Regions from separate parts of the Homo sapiens genome. Here regions 1 and 3 are each linked to region 2. The links are contacts of gene promoters, found by promoter capture Hi-C in human tissues and cell types (Jung and others, 2019). All regions are on one chromosome and are shown on one strand. Each heading gives the region's core, a stretch centred on a gene start or on the middle of the fragment in contact. The rest is flanking DNA. Distances are from core to core; before and after follow the strand shown. Region 1 holds the start of FCER2 (Fc epsilon receptor II). Region 2 overlaps EVI5L (ecotropic viral integration site 5 like). Region 3 holds the start of RETN (resistin).

Region 1 (3,561 bases), core at 848-3,347, 150 kb before region 2:
TGGGGCACTCCAGAGCCCATCACACTTGAGCTACACAGCAGGTGCACCCATGAGATCTTGACAAATGGCTTAATTAACCTGGAAACTTCTTTCCTCATTCGTAAAATGATGATACCAAGAACACCTATACTGTTGGTTGGTGATCTGTGCTAAAAATATCACCAGCGTTTATTATAATTGCCTTGCCTGTGTGACCTCAGCCAAGGATTCAACCATTCTCAGCCTCAGTTTTCCCCTCTGTAAAATGGGCTGATGACAGCACCCAACTCATGAGGCCAAGATAGGATCCAATGAGATCACAGCATACCTGAGGTTTTTGGTGCCGGGCTGCGCACAGTGGGTCTTCGGATTCTAAACATTTATGAAACATCTACTCTGTGCCACGTCCCACTGAGAAATGCTAAGAGCCCATAACCCAGGCCTCAGCCTTCTCCTCTGCCAATGTCCCCAGGGCATCTGTAAAGTGCTCTGACTTTATTTATTTATTTATTTATTTATTGAAATGGAGTCTCGCTCTGTTGCCCAGGCTGGAGTGCAGGGGCACGATCTCGGCTCACTGCCACCTCCACCTCCTGGGTTCAAGCGATTCTCCCGCCTCAGCCTCCCGAGTAGCTGGGACTATAGGCACGTGCCACCATGACCAGATAATTTTTGTATTTTTAGTAGAGACGGGTTTTCACTATGTTGGCCAGGCTAGTCTCAAACTCCTGACCTCATGATCCGCCCGCCTCGGCCTCCCAAAGTGCTGGGATTACAGGCGTGAGCCACTGTGCATGGCCTATTTTTTTATTTTTTGAGATGGAGTCTCGCTCTGTCACCCAGGCTAGAGTGCAATGGCACCATCTTGGCTCACTGCAACCTCCACCTCCCGGGTTCAAGCGATTCTCCTGTCTTAGCCTCCCAAGTAGCTGGGACTACAGGCACCCACCACCACACCTGGCTAATTTTTGTATTTTAGTAGAGACAGGGTTTCACCATATTGATCAGGCTGGTCTCGAACTCCTGACCACAGGTGATCTGCCCTCCTCAGCCTCCCAAAGTGCTAGGATTACAGGCGTGAGCCACTGCGCCCGACCAAGTCCTCTGACTTTAAAGCATCTACTATGTGCTGAGGAGCATGGGACTTGGGGTCCTTCAGGCCTGGAGGTCACGGGCTACCTTCTTTCGCTGCTTGACTATAGGTAAGTCCCTTCTCTCGGAGCCTCAGGGAGGTGGGGTGTGGCGCGGCCAGGCTCTGATTAGCGGCAGCTCAAGCTGGCCCTTTTGACATTGTGAGAGGAACCCAGAGACCATCCTGGGACTGGAACTGTCCAGGGAGGCAGCTGGACAGACCTGAGTCCGAGTCCTGGCTTCTTCCTGGATGAGCAGCTCAGTTTGCTCATCTGTAAATTGGGAGTATTCAAAGCACCAGCACACAGTAGGTGCTCAGTAAACCTACTGGCAGGATGCTGGGGGACTGTCCTCATTCTGTGGGGCCTCTCTCAGTGGAACTGAGGTTCCAAGAGGGTAAGTCATTTGTCCCCATCACGCAGTGGTGGGACTGGAACTCAAACCCGGGACCCTTGAGCTGGGAGCCCATTTGCTCAATCATCTGGAGACATAATCTCATGGTGGGGTGTCTACTGGTAAGTGCTGGGTGGCAGGATCCCAACTCCAGGCCGTCCTTCTAACCCAAGAGGTCCTGCCTCTGCCTAGAGTCTTCCATGGCTCCCCAGGGCCCTCTATGATCGGCCCAGCGCACTCACCAAGCTCATCTCAGACCAGATGGCCTGCTTTCACTTCCCCAAATCAGGGACTCGAATGCCTCGAGATTCTGTCCACACTGCGGCCCCCACCCCCGCCCCCTCACCACCCACCACCTCCCTTCTCTGGTTGTGACCTCCTGCTGGTCATCCCTTGAGGCTCAGCCCAAGGTCGTTTCTTCCAAGGGCGCTTTGATCTCCACTTCCCATGGCCAACCCCCAACACACCAGATACGTACTCACTTAGTGGAGTTTGGAGCCTGTGTCTGTCCTCCTAGTGTGTTGGGGTCGACCAGAGCGATTGGCAGGGACCGTCAGAGACAGAGGTTTAAGCAGGAAGAGAGACACTTTCTTCTGAAAGTAGAGCCACTGACAGCTTCTATTTTCATAGACCTAAATATGGGCTTGCCACCCGGATAACATTACACGCATGGCCTCTCCTGGTGCTCCCCACACCCGGGTGAAGTCCGTGTTATTATTATCTCCATTTCTCAGGTAAGAGAATTGGGTGAGAACTAGAGATGTTAAGCAGCAAGTTCCCACAGGGCTGAAGGAGGTGAGTGGTAGCGTCAAGATGTGAACCACTGTTACTGCACACTGAATCATACCACTATGGCCGATCACAGAGGGCCCTGGGGAGCCACGGAAGGCTCTAGGCAGAGGCAGGGCCTCTTGGGTTAGAAGGACGGCCTGGAGTTGGGATCCTGCCACCCGGCACTTACCAGCAGACACCCCACCATGAGATTATGTCTCTTGATGATTGAGCAAATAGGCTCCCAGGTCAAATGTCCCAGGTTTGAGTCCCAGCAAGAAAAAAGGGAAGAGGAGAGAGAGGCAGAGGAAGGGGAAAAAAAAGACAGAAGGAAGGAGAGGGAGAAGGAGGAGTAGGAGGGAAGGAGGGAAGCGGGGGGAAAGAAAGATACGTGAGATAATATTCAGGTCAAATATGGACAGTTTTGGCTGGGCACGGTGGCTCACGCCTGTAATCCCAGCACTTTGGGAGGCTGAGGTGGGAGGATCACTTAAGCCTGGGAGTTCAAGACCAGCCTGGACAACATAGCAAGCCGTTGTCTCTACAAAAACTATAAAAACTAGCAGGGCATGGTGGTGCATGCCTGTGATCCCAGCTACTGGGGAGGCAGAGGTGAGTGGATCACTTGAGCCCAGGAGTTCAAGATCAGCCTGGGCAACACAGTGAGATGAAAGAAAGAAAGAGAGAGAGAAAGAGAGAGAGAGAGACCGGGCACAGTGGCTCACGCCTGTAATCCCAGCACTTTGGGAGGCCGAGGCAGGTGGATCATCTGAGGTCAGGAGTTCAAGGCCAACATGGTGAAACCCTGTATCTACTGAAAATACAAAAAAAAAAAAAAAAAAAAAAAAATTAGCTGGGCATGGTGGTGGGCACCTGTAATCCTAGCTACTCGGGAGGCTGAGGCAGGAGAATCGCTTGAATCCGGGAGGCAGAGGTTGCGGTGAGCCGAGATCGCGCCATTGCATTCCAGCCTGGGCAACAAAAGCTAAACTCTGTCTCACAAAAAAAAAAAAGAAAAGAAAAAAGAAAGAAAAACAGAAAAGAAACACCAAACTCCATCCCAGCCCCATCCTGGAACTAAGACTTCATCCCCATGTCCTCACAACATGGCCCAGCTGGACTTATTCCCAAGCTTCCTCCTCCTTCTCCTCGTGTGTCCCCATTGGTGGGACAGTCCGTCCATCCACCCAGACACCCCGGCCCAGGTCCAGGCCTTGTCCAAGCACTTCCCGATCTTCCACCCCACCGCTCACCCAGCACCCGCGCCTGGCTCGTCTCAAAAAAATA
Region 2 (3,582 bases), core at 644-3,143:
CGGTGGGAGGGCGTCCCCCTCACTGTGCCCACCCGGCCTCCCACCCCTGCAGGAGCAGCTCCCAGACCTCAACACCCACTTCCGTTCCCAAAGCTTCCACACATCCATGTATGCCTCGTCCTGGTTCCTCACACTGTTCCTGACCACCTTCCCACTCCCCGTCGCCACCCGGGTCTTTGACATCTTCATGTATGAGGTGAGGACCGATGGTGCCTGGGGAGGGAAGAGAGCCCCTTGGGGGTGGTTGGAACAGGAGCCTCCCTGCCCTCCACCTCCCACTGCCTTTGCCGCCTTTGCAGGGGCTGGAGATCGTGTTCCGAGTGGGCCTCGCCCTGCTGCAGGTGAACCAGGCAGAGCTGATGCAGCTGGACATGGAGGGGATGTCCCAGGTGGGCCGGGAGGGCCAGGGCCGGTGGGGCTGCCCCCAATCAGGGGCTTCGAGTCACAGGATGCCCTCACAAGTGACAGAGAGGGCCCGGCTTCGAGGGTGGAAGGTGGTGTGCCTGACATCCCTGATCTGTTCCCATCCACTCTGTTCCCCTGAGGTCTCCCTAAGGGACCAGAGGACCCCCTAGGCTCTGCCAGACACAGTCAGGGGCCAGCAGCCTGGCCGCAGGGAGACAGGAGGCCCAGGCTGAGCCCTGGGAGCCCCACTGCCCACCTCCTGCCCCCAACCCCGCAGATGCCCCAAAGCCTGATGGCAGATCATGACTGACTGACCATGAGGGCATCCCCACCCTGCCGCCCAGCCTGGTGAGGGCACAGGAGGGAGTTTGGGGGTCTAGGCAACCTCACGCCTTGCCCCGCCCCAGCCCGGCCTGCCTGGAGGCCCTGCTGCTGGCCAGCCTGCCTCCCACCGCTACTTCTCTGCTGTGCGGGCCCCTGCCCCCTCCCCGCGTCCTCCAGCTGGTGCTTCAGGGAAGAATGCACAAAGGCCACGGTTGTGTCCGTGAACATGGGCAGGCATTGTCCACAGCTACCAGAGGGGGCCAGCTGGGCCGGGTGCAGGAGCTGTGTCCCCCCTGGGCTTACCTTAACCCTTTGCACAGGCCCGAGGCCCCCGGCATACCCATCCTCCTTCCCCCACGAAGGTCCCCTCTGTCAGACCCCCCGACCCTCAGCCTTCACTCCCAGGAGAGCCTCCTTGGCCTGCTTTTCTTTTTTTCTTTTACCTTTTTCTTTTTTTTTTTAAGTCGGAGTTGCTCTGTGGCCCAGGCTGGAGTACAGTGGTGCAGTCCTAGCTCACTGCAGCCTCCACCTCCTGGGCTGAAGCGATCCTCCCGCCTCAGCCTCCTGAGTAGCTGGAACCAGAGGTGTACATCACCATGTCCAGCTAATTTTTTTTTTTCAGAAATGGGGTCTCACTATGTTGCCCACACTGGTCTCAAACTCCTGGGCTCAAGCTATTTATTTCTCCCACCTCAGGCTTTTAAATCATTGGGATTATATGAATGAGCCACCACATCCAGCATCTGCCAGCTTTTCTTCTGGAAACTAAGGCTTTGGCTGCAGGCAGTCCCCCATTCCCTCCCCTCACGCTCAGTCTTTCCATTGCTCCACAAACACTGAGGACACGGCGTTGAGGACATGGCGACACCCCGGGCAGACCCGTTCCTGCCCCCCTCCAGGGCAACAGGGCTCGGGCGGCCCCCGGTGGTCAGGGCCTGCATGTTGGTGACCAGGTGACCGGCTGTGTCCCCACAGTACTTCCAGAGAGTGATCCCCCACCAGTTCGACAGCTGCCCGGACAAGCTGGTCCTCAAAGCCTACCAGGTCAAGTACAACCCCAAGAAGATGAAGAGGTCGGTGCCTGCTGGGCAACCAGGGTACTGGTAAGAAGGGGGGACCCCCGAGGGCATGACAGTAACCACGGGGCCCTCCCGATCTGCAGGCTGGAGAAGGAGTACGCAGCCATGAAGAGCAAGGAGATGGAGGAGCAGATCGAGATCAAAGTGAGTCCAGGGGCCCAGGGGCGGGGACAGGGATGGGAGGCCTTTGGGGGCTGCCCTCCGTACTCTAAAGATCGGCCGCTAGGGGGCGGGCCTTCCCAGCGCACAGGCGGACCCGGCGGTCCTTGGCGGACAGGCCTCCGCCCACCTGCGCCGTCCTTCACCTGTTAGGCCAGCTGTGAGCGCCTCCCCCGCCTGACGCCGCGGTAACCAAGACAGTCAAGGTCCCTGCCCCGCTGGGCCGCCCAGCGTCATGGGGAAGCAATCAATAAACCACTGAACTAGAGTGCGGACTCTAAATGCTCTGGACAAGGATGTGCACGCGGTGGGCAAGGCTGACTTGGGCAGAGGCTCCGGGCCCAGGGTGTCGAGGGCTAAAGGCCCAGGGCAGCAGCGTGCCTTGGGGGCTGGAGGAATTCCAAGAAGGTTGCAGTGGAGGACCCCGCAAGGGGACCGCCCTCTGGGGAAAGATGGAGCACGCAGGGCCCAGACACCAGGGTGTGTAGGGCAGGGTGTGGGCACTCACCCGGGGCCCCTGGTTCCTGGGGCAACTGGCCCACCAGCCCTGCCAGGTCAGGGGGTTTCCTGAGTGTGCAAAGCTTCTCTCTCCTTCCTTGCGCATTCTTCCCTTTACACGTGATTTTAGTTATTTACTCAACAAGCATTTATTGCCGGGCGCGATGGCTCATGCATGTAATCCCAGCACTTTGGGAGGCGGAGGCAGGTGGATCACTTGAGGTCAGGAGTTCGAGACCAGCCTGGCTAATGCAGTGAAACCCCGTCTCTATTAAAAATACAAAAATTAGCTGGGTGTGGTAGCACACACCTGTAATCCTGGCTACTCGGGAGGCTGAGGCAGGAAAATCACTTGAACCCGGGAGGCGGAGGTTACAGTGAGGCAAGATTGTACCGTTGCACTCCAGCCTGGGCGACAGAGTGAGACTGTGTCTCAAAAAAAAAAAAAAAAGAAAAGAAAAGAAAAAAAACATTTATTGAGCACCTGCTGTGTGCCAAAGTCACAGCTGAGACTGAGGGCGCACCAGTGATAGGAAGGGACACAGACACAAACCCAACACAGCCTGGCTCCATGCTCTTCAGGGGCAGAGCCGCACAGTGGCTAACACTGGAGTCCAACAGACAAGGATTCAATTCCAGCTCCAGCGGCACAGTGGCTCACACCTGTAATCCCAACACTTTGAGAGGCTGAGGTGGGAGGGTGGCTTGAGGCCAGGAGTTGGAGACCAGTCTGGGCAACATAGCAATACCCCGTCTTTACAAAAATATAGAAATAAATACAAAAGGTGTGCCCAGCTCCTGCAAGGATGGCTGTGCTTGGTGCTGTGATGGGTTGAAGCCAGAGAGATGATAGGGAAACCCAGGGGCCAGGGATCAGGGCTCCAGATTGCTATGAGGACCAGAGACCTGAAATAGCTCTGACCCAGCTGAACTGAGGGACTAGGGCAATGCCCTGCCCCACTCTGACTCAGTTTCCCCACATGACATGCATCAATGACTGTCAAGTCTGCGGTTCTGTCTGACTGCATTTGCTTCCTGGGAATGTTCTAGGTGTTTCCATCACCTTTTCTCCCCAGAAGAAACCCAGGAAATATTCTGTGTGACCTGCAGTGTGGCA
Region 3 (3,416 bases), core at 678-3,177, 180 kb before region 2:
GGATAGGGAGTGAGTGTTTCATGGGGACAGAGTTTCAGTTTGGAAAGAGGAGAAAGTTCTGGAGATGGACGGCAGTGGTGGCTACATAACAACATGAATGTGCTTATTGCCACAGAATTGTGCTCTGAAAAATGGTTAAAATAGGCTGGGCATGGTGGCTCACACCTGTAATCCCGGCACTTTGGGAGGCTGAGGCGGGTGGATCACTTGAGGTCAGGAATTTGAGACCAGCCTGGCCAACATGGTGAAACCCCATCTCTACTAAAAATACAAAAAATTAGCCGGGCATGGTGGTGCACGCCTGTAATCCCAGCTACTCGGGAGGCTGAGGCAGGAGAATTGCTTGAACCCAGGAGGTGGAGGTTGCAGTGAGCCAAGATTGAGCCACTGTACTCCAGCCTGAGCAACTGAGTGAGACTCTGAAACAAAGAAACAAACAAAAGCAATGGTTAAAATGGAACAAGATGGTGCATACCTGTAGCTTCAGCTACTGGGGAGTCCAAGGTGGGAGGATTACTTGAAGCCAGGAGTCTGACACTAGCTTGGGCAACATAGCAAGACCCCGTCTCAAAAAAAAAAAAAAAAAGGCCGGGCACGGTGGTTCACGCCTGTAATCCCAGCACTTTGGGAGGCCAAGGCGGGCAGATCACAAGGTCAGGGGATCGAGACCATCCTGGCTAACACGGTGAAACTCCATCTCTACTAAAAAAAAAAAAATACAAAAAATTAGCTGGGCGTGGTGGCAGGCGCCTGTAGTCCCAGCTACTTGGGAGGCTGAAGCAGGAGAATGGCGTGAACCCAGGAGGCGGAGCTTGTAGTGAGCCGAGATCGCGCCACTGCACTCCAGCCTGGGCGACAGAGCAAGATTCCGTCTCAAAAAAGAAAAAAGTAAGTTATAATGGTAAGTTGTATGTTATATGTATTTTACCACAAAAAGGCCCGTTGTACTGGAAACAAAGAACAAATAAAAATGTAATAACCATTCCAAGCTCATGGGTGGTCCAAGAAGAAACATGAGCTGGACCTTGGCCCATGAGCAATGGCTTTCCAACTTCTGTTGCAGGTGATGCCATTGATGGAATAAACCATGATTTTTCTTTCTTCTTTTTGAGATGGAGTCTTGCTATGGTGCCCAAGCTAGTCATCCAGGATGGAGTGCAGGGGCACGATCTCAGTGCACTGCAACCTCCACATCCCGGGTTCAAGTGATTCTCCCACCTCAGCCTCCCAAGTAGCTGGGATTACAGGCACACGCCACCACGCCCAGTTAATTTTTGTATGTCTAATGGAGACAGGGTTTCATCATGTTGGCCAGGTTGGTCTCAAGCTCCTGACCTCAAGTGATCCGCCCGCCTTGGCCTCCCAAAGTGCTGGGATTACAGGCGTGAGCCACCGGCCATAAACCATGATTTTATTTACCAGTTCTATTGCTCATGGGCATTTGGGTATGAATGTGGTATGTCATTCTCACCCAGAGACATAATTATTATTACTATTTTAGAGAAGTGGTCTTGCTCTGTTGCCCAGACTGGAGTGCAGTGCTGTGATCATAAGTCACTGTAGCTTCGAACTCCCGGGCTCAAGCAATTCTCTCACGTCAGCCTCCTTAGTAGCTGGGACTACAAGTGCTTGTCCGCACCATGCCTAGCAAGAGGCATTAATTTTGTCATGTTTGCATCAGCCACCCTTGCATGCAAAACTCTGCTTGTCTACCTGTTCCTCAGACCACAGCCCCTGGCATTATCCCTGGGGCACCACCTCCTGACCAGTCTCTGGACATGAAGACGGAGGCCCTGTTGGAAGTGGGAAGGCTCCCTTCCTCCTCCAGCCCTTACTGTCTGCTCAGGGGCTTCCTCTTGGCCCCGGATGTGGGACCGGAGGGTTGGGGGCCCAGGGACTTATTAGCCAAGCCAGGAAGCCCCACCCCAAGAGGCCTCAAAGAAAGAGCTGCGGTGCAGGAATTCGTGTGCCGGATTTGGTTAGCTGAGCCCACCGAGAGGGTAAGTGACAGCTGCTCCTGCGCTTGCCATGGCACCAGCGGGGAGGCTGGGGTCAAGGCTGAGCCTCCATCCCTGTCCCCCACATGGGGGGACAGGGGTCCAGGTCCAGGGGCAGATCCTACTCCCTCCATGGGCCGGATCTTCCCCACAGGGCAGGGCTGATCCAGCTGTGGGTCTCTTGGTTCCCTCTTTCAGCGCCTGCAGGATGAAAGCTCTCTGTCTCCTCCTCCTCCCTGTCCTGGGGCTGTTGGTGTCTAGCAAGACCCTGTGCTCCATGGAAGAAGCCATCAATGAGAGGATCCAGGAGGTCGCCGGCTCCCTAAGTGAGGACCCCCCACTTGGGCAAGCTCCCCAAGGGTCTCAGAGACCTCACTGATCCCTGGCACAGACCTGACTCCAACCCAGCCCCAGCGCTCACCAAATCTCATCCTCAAATCCAACCAGATCATAAATTCAACCCCAACTCCACTCCCAACCCCTCCGACTGTCCCCACCTTATCCACGGCTCCAAACCCAATCCCCGCTCTCACTCCAAACCTTCCCTTACTCCAAAACACCCAACTCAAGACAGGGTCCTGGAGGCCAGTGAGCTCCTATGCCCACAGGGACCTAGCTCCAAACCAACAGGGCTAGGGGAGGATGGGGGAGGGACCGTTTGGTCTCACAGCTCCCCCTGTCTCCTTTCCTCCTGCCCCCCAGTATTTAGGGCAATAAGCAGCATTGGCCTGGAGTGCCAGAGCGTCACCTCCAGGGGGGACCTGGCTACTTGCCCCCGAGGTGAGTGCAGGAGACTGTTGTCCAGGCGCCCATTTCTGTTCCAAGTCCCCTGGGAATGCCCCCTCCCCGCCACGTTCCCCGTGTCCAGCCTCTACTCCCCTAGGATCTTGGTCCTGACTCCCAGCCTTCTCCGCCCACCATCTGGACACTGGTGTCCACCCTCACTCCCTGCCTCCAGTGCCCATTCAGTGGTTGGAGCCTCCAGCCGTCCCCGTCCCCACCCCCGCCCCCCCAACCCCCCTCCGCGCTCCCCACCCCCCTCCCGCTCCCACCCTCAGCCTCCCAGCTCAGAGTCCACGCTCCTGTGTTCCGGGCTGCAGGCTTCGCCGTCACCGGCTGCACTTGTGGCTCCGCCTGTGGCTCGTGGGATGTGCGCGCCGAGACCACATGTCACTGCCAGTGCGCGGGCATGGACTGGACCGGAGCGCGCTGCTGTCGTGTGCAGCCCTGAGGTCGCGCGCAGCGCGTGCACAGCGCGGGCGGAGGCGGCTCCAGGTCCGGAGGGGTTGCGGGGGAGCTGGAAATAAACCTGGAGATGATGATGATGATGATGATGATGATGATGGAGCGGATCTGAGCCCTGCGTGGTTTCTTTAGTAGGCCCGGAGGGACTGATCTAGCGTCTCCAAGAGAGTGGGG

Evidence for each region. The method cuts DNA at HindIII sites, captures the fragments that hold promoters and counts their contacts. A contact is called where the count stands out against the background at its distance.
Region 1: the fragment with the promoter of FCER2 here is called in contact with a fragment that was not itself captured in region 2 in 1 of the 25 tissues and cell types used here (lymphoblastoid cells).
Region 3: the fragment with the promoter of RETN here is called in contact with a fragment that was not itself captured in region 2 in 1 of the 25 tissues and cell types used here (lymphoblastoid cells).

The regions. Positions count from the first base shown.
Region 1 is chr19:7,700,034-7,703,594 of GRCh38, forward strand. It overlaps FCER2 (Fc epsilon receptor II), which reads right to left and starts at 2,098. Exons shown (of 11, transcript NM_001220500.2): 1 at 1,982-2,098. LOC105372262 (a long non-coding RNA gene) reads right to left here. Exons shown (of 5, transcript XR_936296.2): 5 at 3,047-3,088. RefSeq lists an enhancer at 1,985-2,094. The HindIII fragment of the contact is 10,644 bases long and covers 1-3,561 here.
Region 2 is chr19:7,851,382-7,854,963 of GRCh38, forward strand. EVI5L (ecotropic viral integration site 5 like) reads left to right here. Exons shown (of 20, transcript NM_001159944.3): 7 at 53-196; 8 at 300-389; 9 at 1,705-1,802; 10 at 1,892-1,952. Among named protein-coding and RNA genes, the nearest start is that of PRR36, 21 kb to the right of the region's middle. The HindIII fragment of the contact is 4,759 bases long and covers 1-3,582 here.
Region 3 is chr19:7,667,122-7,670,537 of GRCh38, forward strand. RETN (resistin) reads left to right here and starts at 1,928. Exons shown (of 4, transcript NM_020415.4): 1 at 1,928-2,000; 2 at 2,196-2,323; 3 at 2,700-2,777; 4 at 3,098-3,334. The coding sequence starts at 2,206. The coding sequence ends at 3,228. The HindIII fragment of the contact is 23,719 bases long and covers 1-3,416 here.